Linked DNA regions of Homo sapiens: regions 1 and 3 are each linked to region 2. The links are contacts of gene promoters, found by promoter capture Hi-C in human tissues and cell types (Jung and others, 2019). All regions are on one chromosome and are shown on one strand. Each heading gives the region's core, a stretch centred on a gene start or on the middle of the fragment in contact. The rest is flanking DNA. Distances are from core to core; before and after follow the strand shown.

Region 1 (2,700 bases), core at 151-2,650, 47 kb before region 2:
AACCTGGGTGACAGAGCAAGACTCCGTCTCAAAATAAAAAATAAAAAATAAAAATAAATAAACGCCTGTGTAGTAATTTATTTATTCAATAAGCAACTGATGAGCAACCACTGCATTTCAGGCTCTGTGCTAGACATAGAAAAAAGAAGGCTCGCTGTTCAATGGGGAAAATAGACACACAGGAATTATATAATATAGTGCAACAAATATAATAGATGCTTATGTAACTTGCTGAGGAGCAAAAGGAACTAAGTAACTGAGAGGTGAAGAGGCAATTCCCTCTTTATCTTCCCACATCGTAGGGACAATTTTTATTAACCTTTTAATTCCCCTTTCAGCAATCCTAAGGCAATGCTTGCATATAGTAAGAGTTTAATAAATATCCATTAAATAAATGATTATAGGAATAAATGAATGAGGCAGATTGTAACATCTGGCACCAAATGTATTTATGCATGCCTTTAGGAACTTGTCAGCTCCGCACAGTATTTATCTCACACTCACAAAGTGCATATGTATCTTTTATTCATTATCTCAACTTAGATCCACTTTACAGGTATGGTAGCAAGAGCAATTATGACAGCATGCTAGAGGCTCCCTTTCCCTTCCATATGCTTTCTCAATTCAGCAAACTGAAGAGCTCTATATTTAAGATGCTGTCCTGGCTTCACATGGCAGAAAGGGATAATGCACTGGCTGGAGCTGGGGCTTCACTTTCTGCCTCACTCAAAGGATGCAGGCATATGTTTTAGGCAAGGGCTTCCTTTGATTGTTGAAAGAGGCAACCAAGGTAAAGGCCTAGCATTGATCTTCCATGTTGCTTGTCCTCAGGCCAAGTCTTCTGCTTGGATTACAGAAGTCTTTTCATCTTATTTCTACTGCCTTAAAAAAAAAAATCCTTGGAAATTCCCAGGGATACTATTCAAATCCATTTAGTTTCTGAGAGCTTCCAGAGCATTAGAACTAAAACTAGAGGAAAAACATGTTCTATCTCCAGGGTAACTGCTTCAAAATAGGTATAGTCCTAATCATTTTAAGGCTGATTGCTTTGTAAACTGTTTATACTATATGAATGACAGTTACAATGACTGTCATTGTGACTGTTCATCATAAATCATGATGTTGGGCTTATTTTCCCGTATTTCCCCACAGACCATAGTTCTTACTGACCTGAGTGTTGATAGGGACTCTCTGGCTCAGAAGGACTTCCTGGGGAGTGAGGGTAGCTGGCCGTGCACGGGGACTGGGAGAACGCGTGGCTGGGTGAGGGAGGGAGTGCAGAGCACGGAGGCTGCTGGAAAGAGTCAGGATAGGTGGCGTTGTGTGGCATGAGTGGCTCACTGTGCAGGGAGGCGCTGCGGAACTTGGCCAGGAGGCTGAGCTGGGGGTTATATTCACTGTGTCTTGGCACGAGCACAGGAGGCAGTACTAGGATCAGAAAGGAACAAGGCAGTTAGAATTGAACATTGCTCATCAGTACACAACAGAGTGGATACTTGCTGTTCTTATCTATTTTTTGTTTATGATAGAGCTGTTTTTCCCCTTGGGAACTACTCCCATTAGTCTTTGTGCTCATCATAAAACTGTCGATTAAGTCCCCATCTCCACCTAAGAAGCAAGCATGTGAGTAAGCTAAGGTAACAGTCTTCTCCTTGTAACCGGAATCTTAAGCAGAATGTCATAATTCACAAAAGCATTTGGAGAAGGATCTTTCTAGTGTCAGCACTCTAAAGAGACCTGCTCTTTATTCCTACCTTGGAAATGACCAGAGCTGTCCTAATACCTGGCCTTCTGGCAACCTGATTGTTACGTCTTTCTTTAATTCTGCCAAATAAGTCTTTTTTTCCCCCAAGGCAAAATCAGTTTCTCTTGCTTGCAATGAAACCCTAAGTGATCCCCAGAATATTTTTCCTTCAGAGATCATGTTGAATTATTTAGATGACCAGACTCAATTTCAGGTTCAGTAGTGCCACTGAAATAAAAACATTCTATGTGTCCTTAATGGAAAGATTTCAAGGTGAGTAATTAAAAGTTATTAAGTAAAACACAAACGGTGAATAATAATAAAAGTGACTAAGTAAAAGATGAGCAGCAGCAGGGCACAGTGGCTCACGCCTGTAATACCAGCACTTTGAGAGGCCGAGGCAGCCAGATCACCTGAGATCAGGAGTTTGAGACCAGCCTAGCCAACGTGGTGAAACCCCGTCTCTATTAAAAATACAACAATTAGCCGGGTGTGGTGGCGGGCACCTGTAATCCCAGCTATTCAGGAGGCTGAGGCAGGAGAATCGCTTGAATCTGGGAGGTGGAAGTTGCAGTGAGCCGAGATCATACCATTGCACTCCAGCCTGGGTGACAAGAGTGAAACTCTGTCTCAAAAAAATAAAATAAGCAGCAATAACAAAACATAAATGATGTTTGTTCATTTACTATGCTTTTCTGGGTTTCATTTTTTAAAAAGAATGTTACTGTTCTTGATTCTGATTATACACAAAATTTCAGAATAAATTCAAATTCTTAAGGGCAAGCTTTGCCCAGGCCCTCACGTCCTACCGACTCCTAGAAGGTTACAATGCCTGGCATAAAGTAGCTACTCCAAAACTGTTGTTGAAGAGCCATCTGTGACCAACATAAGTTCCAGACAGGGAAGCAAAGAAAATACAAGGGGGAAGTGGTCTAAGAAATAACAAAGGAAAACCT
Region 2 (2,700 bases), core at 167-2,666:
ACATGCTTGTAGTAGTCACATTTCACTTTCCCAGACGGGTGCCACAAACGTTCCGCTCAGTTACTGCTTAGGAGGCAGCATTATTAAATGCCTCACGACTTAACGGTCAGCCTCCATGCTTCTTGCTAACCTACATTTCCAAAAGATCATCCGAGAAATCTGGCAAGCCACCGAAATGGTACTAGTAAACTGGATCCATCCAAAGCACTCCACAGTGCCCTGTGGGTGTGTTTCTCACTGTAAACTACTGGGTAAAGAATTTACATACAATTTTATCTCCAAACTCGATTTGTATCCTTTGTAGGTTAGTTCTCAGGAGTACCCACTCCAGCCCAGAAATAAGTCAACGTAGTATTTCCAAACTATCACTTCAAATGTCCACGGTCAAGGGCAGGAGGAGGAAGGAATAGTAACGGGAAAACTTGTCAGCGATTAGCCATCCATAAAAATGTTCTCCCAGCGCTCCTCCTTCCGATCACAAAGCTGGCGTCAGGCAGTCTCCTGTATCTGCTTCCCACCTCGCCCCCTCCCCTCTGCGGAGAGCTGGCACCGAGGGGCGGGCCAAGGAAAAGACAAACACCCCGGCTCCGACACAGTCCAAGCGCGAGCCCGGAGACACTTCAACAACATTCCTAACTTTTTTTCTCAGTTCGCATGCCTCAAAGGTAAACAAAGCAAAAAGCCTACGAAACAGAAGGCAAGTGAGGCCAATTCGGCGCTGGCGAGTTTAAAAGTGGCCCCCAAAGAGTCACAATGACGACCCCCGCCGCCCCCTCTGTCCGCTGTCCCCTATCTCCAGCTACAGCAAGCGACCCCTCAGGCGCCTATCCTGGTCCCTGCCCACGCCCCGGGCCCCAGCCCCGACCCGACCGCCGCCCCCGCCGCGGGTCGAACATCCCCTGACAGGTCCCGGGGCCCGCGGCGCGGGCGGATGCAGGCGCGAGGAAGGCGAGCTGCGCCGCGGCCAACTCCCCAGAGCAGTCCCCTCCGGCCCCGCGCCCACCCCACCCCACCCCACTCCACCCCAGACAGGCTCCACCAAAAAACCCGGGAACAACGACCGCCAAAAGCCAAGCCTCACGCCGAGGAGCCTCCCAGGCTGCCCCGAGGACGAACAACTTCGCCCTCCACTCAATGCGCTCACACGCACGCACACAAGCAGCGCGCGGCCGAGGAGGGCACGTCTTACCTGTCCCCGCCGTGCCACTCATCCCTCCCCCACCCAGGTCCGGCGCCCCCAACCCCGCCCCCGCCGTGGTCCCCCGGCCGCCCGCTCCGAGCGCCGCGCACTCACTGCCTGGCTGCGCGCGCCCAGCGCCTGCAGGGCCCGGCGGCGGCGGCGGGGACCGAGACAGCGGCTGCAGCAGCGGCGGCGGCGGCGGCGGCGGCGGCGGCCCCAGCCGGCGTCAGTCAGACTGGAGCCGCGAAGCCTCATCGCCCGTATTAGTGCGCCGACCTGGAAAGCGGCCAGGGAGCCCTGCTTGCGGCCCGCCCCCGCCCGCCGCCGCGCGCTCTGGCCGCTCCGGGAGCCGCAGAGGAGGGGGCTGCGCGGGCCCGGCGGGGGGCGGGAGCGAGACCGGCCCCACGGCCACGTGCGCGGAAACTCGCGGCGCGGGGGTGGCGGGGTAGTACTCCTCGCAGCGGCCTGCGGCTCGGTTCCCGCCTCTTCCCCACCCCCAGCCCCGCGCTGCCCTCTCGGTCCCCCTGCGCGACCCCAGGCTCGGCCCCTGCCCGGCCTGCCGGGGTGGCCCGGGGGTGGGGTGGGAGCCCTTTGTCTGCGTGGGTCGCCTCGCGTCTCTCTCTCCCACCCCACCTCTGAGATTTCTTGCCAGCACCTGGAGCCCGAAACCAGAAGAGTTGTCAGCCCAACAAGAATATAGGATCACCGGCCCATCAGTCTGGAGACCCTTCTGAGCTGCTGTTCCTCACATGTTTCTGGGCCCTGATAGTGACTCTCACTTGCCCTGTTTGTTCCTGATTTGCTTTTCGGAGTAAGGGGATCCTGTCCCCATGGACAGTGACAGAGCAACTGGGCCGCAATGGCATAGGCAGAAGAAAATCTAATCACTCTGGGGGTGAGTGGTGGTTAAAACGACTCATGTAATTATGTGGATTGTAATTTCCTTACACATATTTATTTGCTTAACAACCCAGCATGTGAGATATATTATCTAATCTAATAAAAGATACAAACTTATGGGCACACAGCAATGTTACTGTACAACTTTCTCGTCTCACGGCCTGGCTGTCCCCCAGGTAGCCTGCCTCTTAAAGTCACTGTGGACTCCTGGAACCCACTCAGAAACGCCACTTAGGAAGAACCACCTCTGATTCCCCATCAGCCCGTAGTTCCTCACAGAAAAGGCATTTGCTGCAGGGGTGAACGTGGAATAAAGCCACAGGGCAGTTTTCAGCTTGCTCCTGTGTGCAGGAAAGTCATACCTCCAGTTGGCCCCGATGGCGGCTCCGAAATGTAAAGCAAGGCCTTAAATTTAACTGCTTTTTCTAGTTCTCAAAGCACTGCACTTTCTTCATGGCAGATGCTATTTTTGCATTATTATACCGTTGTAGTTGAACGGTGATTTGTTTAAAACAACATTTGCAGCAGAACCTTAAATACCATGCCTTAACCTCAAAGTCTTCTTTCTACACTGGCCCAGATACCTCTGCACCCGGCTATGTGTTGGGTTTGAGATTGTC
Region 3 (2,780 bases), core at 130-2,629, 58 kb after region 2:
CCCAGCTACTTGGGAGGCTGAGGCAGGAGAATCGCTTGAACCTGGGAGGCAGAGGTTGCGGTGAGCCGAGATCGCACCACTGCACTCCAGCCTGGGCAACAGACCGAGACTCTGTCTCAGGAAAAAAAAAAATTGTGTTATATACTTTGCCTACTATTTAGTAGTAAAATAATTTATTCCCTTGTTTTTCTGGTAGAGGTACTTTGTGCAGAAAGGGAGAGAATGATTTTCTTAGAGAGGAAGCATGTTAAAAGTTCAAATAGCATATGGCAAATCAGTTTTAACTTTAAACTTGAAAAGAGCAACAACACTATTGAGTAATACATAAAAAAGAACATACTTCTCCATTTCAAAGATTCATGAGTAGAGTTAAAATACCATGTAATTTAACTAAAAACAAATCAAAATCCAAAAAACTTTCTTTTACAAATCTCGTTTTTATCTCAGCATAAGTCCCCAAGAGCTTTTAAGAGTTTTGTGTATCTGAAGAATTCTGATGTAAGAGCTGAATCCCTGATACCAATCTCACTATCAGGTAGAATTAATCTAAACATTTTTTCAAAAAGTTAGCTGTTCTTCAGAAATGAAAGATATCTTTGTTTTAAAAACTGCCCATGTTAGAAAATGTCTGTAGACATGGAGTCTCTTTCTTTTAAACCTCTTTTGGAGTATAACTGAATTTCCCATGGTTTTTTAAAATGAGTATTTAAGTTACTATGACAGTTGGCTTTTAATAAGTGAGGCAGGTGTGGTGGCATGTGCCTGTAGTCCTAGCCACTAGGGAGGCTGAGGTAAGAGGATTGTGGCTGAGTCATGATGGCACCATTGCACCCCAGCCTGGGCAACAGAAGGAGATCCCAACTCATTTAAAAAAACAAAAAAATAGGTGCAGTGGCTCATGCCTATACTCCCAGCACTTTGGGAGGCTGAGGCAGGGGAATCGCTTGAGGCCATGAGTTCAAGACCAGCCTGGCCAACATGGTGAAACCCCGTCTCTACTAAAAATACAAAAATCAGCCAGGCATGGTGGCACACACCTGTATTCCCAGCTACTTGGGAGGCTAAGGCATGAGAATTGCTTGAACTCGGGAAGTGTAGGTTGCAGTGAGCTGAGATCATGCTACTGCACTCTAGCCTGGGCGACAGAGTGAGACTGTCTCCAAAAAAAAAAAAAAAAAAAAAAAACAAAAACGGTGGTAAGAAGTAAAGTATATATTATCTTCTAGCAAGAAATGCTAAATCAATCAAAATCTTTCTCAGTATTTTTTTTTTTTTTTAATGGAATCTCACTCTGTTGCCCAGGCTGGAGTACAGTGGCAAGATCTCGGCTCATTGCAACAACCACTTCCTGGGTTCAAGCGATTCTCTTGCCTCAGCCTCCCGAGTAGCTGCGATTACAGGCACGTGGCACCATGCCCGGCTAATTTTTTGTATTTTTAGTAGAGACGGGGTTTCACCATGTTAGCCAGGATGGTCTCCATCTCCTGACCTCATGATCCACCCGCCTCGGCCTCCCAAAGTGCTGGGATTATAGGCATGAGTCACTGCGCCCCACCTTTGTTTTTTTTTTTTTTTTGAGACGGAATCTCACTCCGTCACCCAGGCTGGAGTGCAGTGGCACAATCTCAGCTCACTGCAACCTCCGCCTTCTGGCTTCAAGAGATTCTCCTATCTCAGCTCCCAAGTAGCTGGGATTATGGGCACGTGCCACCACACCCAGCTAATTTTTATATTTTCAGTAGAGATGGGGTTCTGCCACGTTGGCCAGGCTGGTCTCAAACTCCTGACCTCGGGTGATCCGCATGCCTCAGTCTCCTGAAATGCTGGGATTACAGGCGTGAGCCACTGTGCCCGGTCCTCAGTACTTTTTAAGTTAAATATTTTCACACAATTTACTGGAGAAAAGGAATAGATAGAGATATAGCTAATTTATATTAACAATCATAAACAGTAACAGAATTGGATCTGATGAAAAAATATCAAGCACAAAGATGAATGTTAGCCGGGCGTGGTGGCTCACGCCTGTAATCCCAGCATTTTGGGAGGCCCAGGTGAGAGGATCACTTGAGGTCAGGAGTTCAAGACCAGCCCTGGCCACCATGGTGAGACCCCACCTCTACTAAAAATACAAAAAAAGTTAGCCGGGCCTGGTGGTGGATGCCTGTAATCCCAGCTGTTTGGGAGGCTGAGGCAGGAGAATCACTTGAACCCAGGAGGCAGAGGCTGCAGTGAGCTGAGATTGTGCCACTGCACTCCAGCCTGGGTGACAGAGTGAGATTTGGTCTCAATTAAAAAAAAAAAAAGGAAAAAAAAAGAAAAAAAGATGAATGTTAATAATTACAGGTACTGGTTGAGTGCTGAACACATGCTAAACACCTGACATACATTTCCTTATTTATTTATTAATTATGGAGTCTTGCTCTGTAGCTCAGGCTGGAGTGCAGTGGCACGATCTTGGCTCGCTGCAACCTCCACCTCTTGGGCTCAAGTTATTCTCCTGCTTCGGCCTCCTGAGTAGCTGGGACTACAGGTGTGTGCCACCATGCATGGCTAAGTTTTTGTATTTTTAGTAGAGATGGGGTTTTACCATGTTGGCCAGGCTGGTCTCAAACGCCTGTCCTCAGGTTCCCAAAGTGCTGGTATTACAGGGATGAGCCACTGTGCCCGGCCACATTTCCTCATTTTAATCACTACCTCAGAGTTATGGTGTCTAAAACAAATGACTTTGGAGGTTGAGTTCTCTTTTGGAAGCCTGCTTTTCTACCCATATATTGAGAGGG

What was found. Contacts are between HindIII fragments. The study calls those that stand out against the background at their distance.
Region 1: a fragment that was not itself captured here is called in contact with the fragment with the promoter of SMAD9 in region 2 in 1 of the 25 tissues and cell types used here (H1 embryonic stem cells).
Region 3: a contact is called between a fragment that was not itself captured here and the fragment with the promoter of SMAD9 in region 2, in 1 of the 25 tissues and cell types used here (thymus).

Annotation. Positions count from the first base shown.
Region 1 is chr13:36,871,488-36,874,187 of GRCh38, forward strand. It overlaps SMAD9 (SMAD family member 9), which reads right to left. Exons shown (of 7, transcript NM_001127217.3): 3 at 1,171-1,428. Among named protein-coding and RNA genes, the nearest start is that of SMAD9, 47 kb to the right of the region's middle. The HindIII fragment of the contact is 5,023 bases long and covers 1-2,700 here.
Region 2 is chr13:36,918,822-36,921,521 of GRCh38, forward strand. SMAD9 (SMAD family member 9) reads right to left here and starts at 1,417. Exons shown (of 7, transcript NM_001127217.3): 1 at 1,295-1,417. RefSeq lists silencers at 1,328-1,397, 1,508-1,557. The HindIII fragment of the contact is 20,741 bases long and covers 1-2,700 here.
Region 3 is chr13:36,976,630-36,979,409 of GRCh38, forward strand. The region is part of intron 6 of ALG5 (ALG5 dolichyl-phosphate beta-glucosyltransferase); the gene reads right to left. Among named protein-coding and RNA genes, the nearest start is that of ALG5, 21 kb to the right of the region's middle. The HindIII fragment of the contact is 7,313 bases long and covers 1-2,780 here.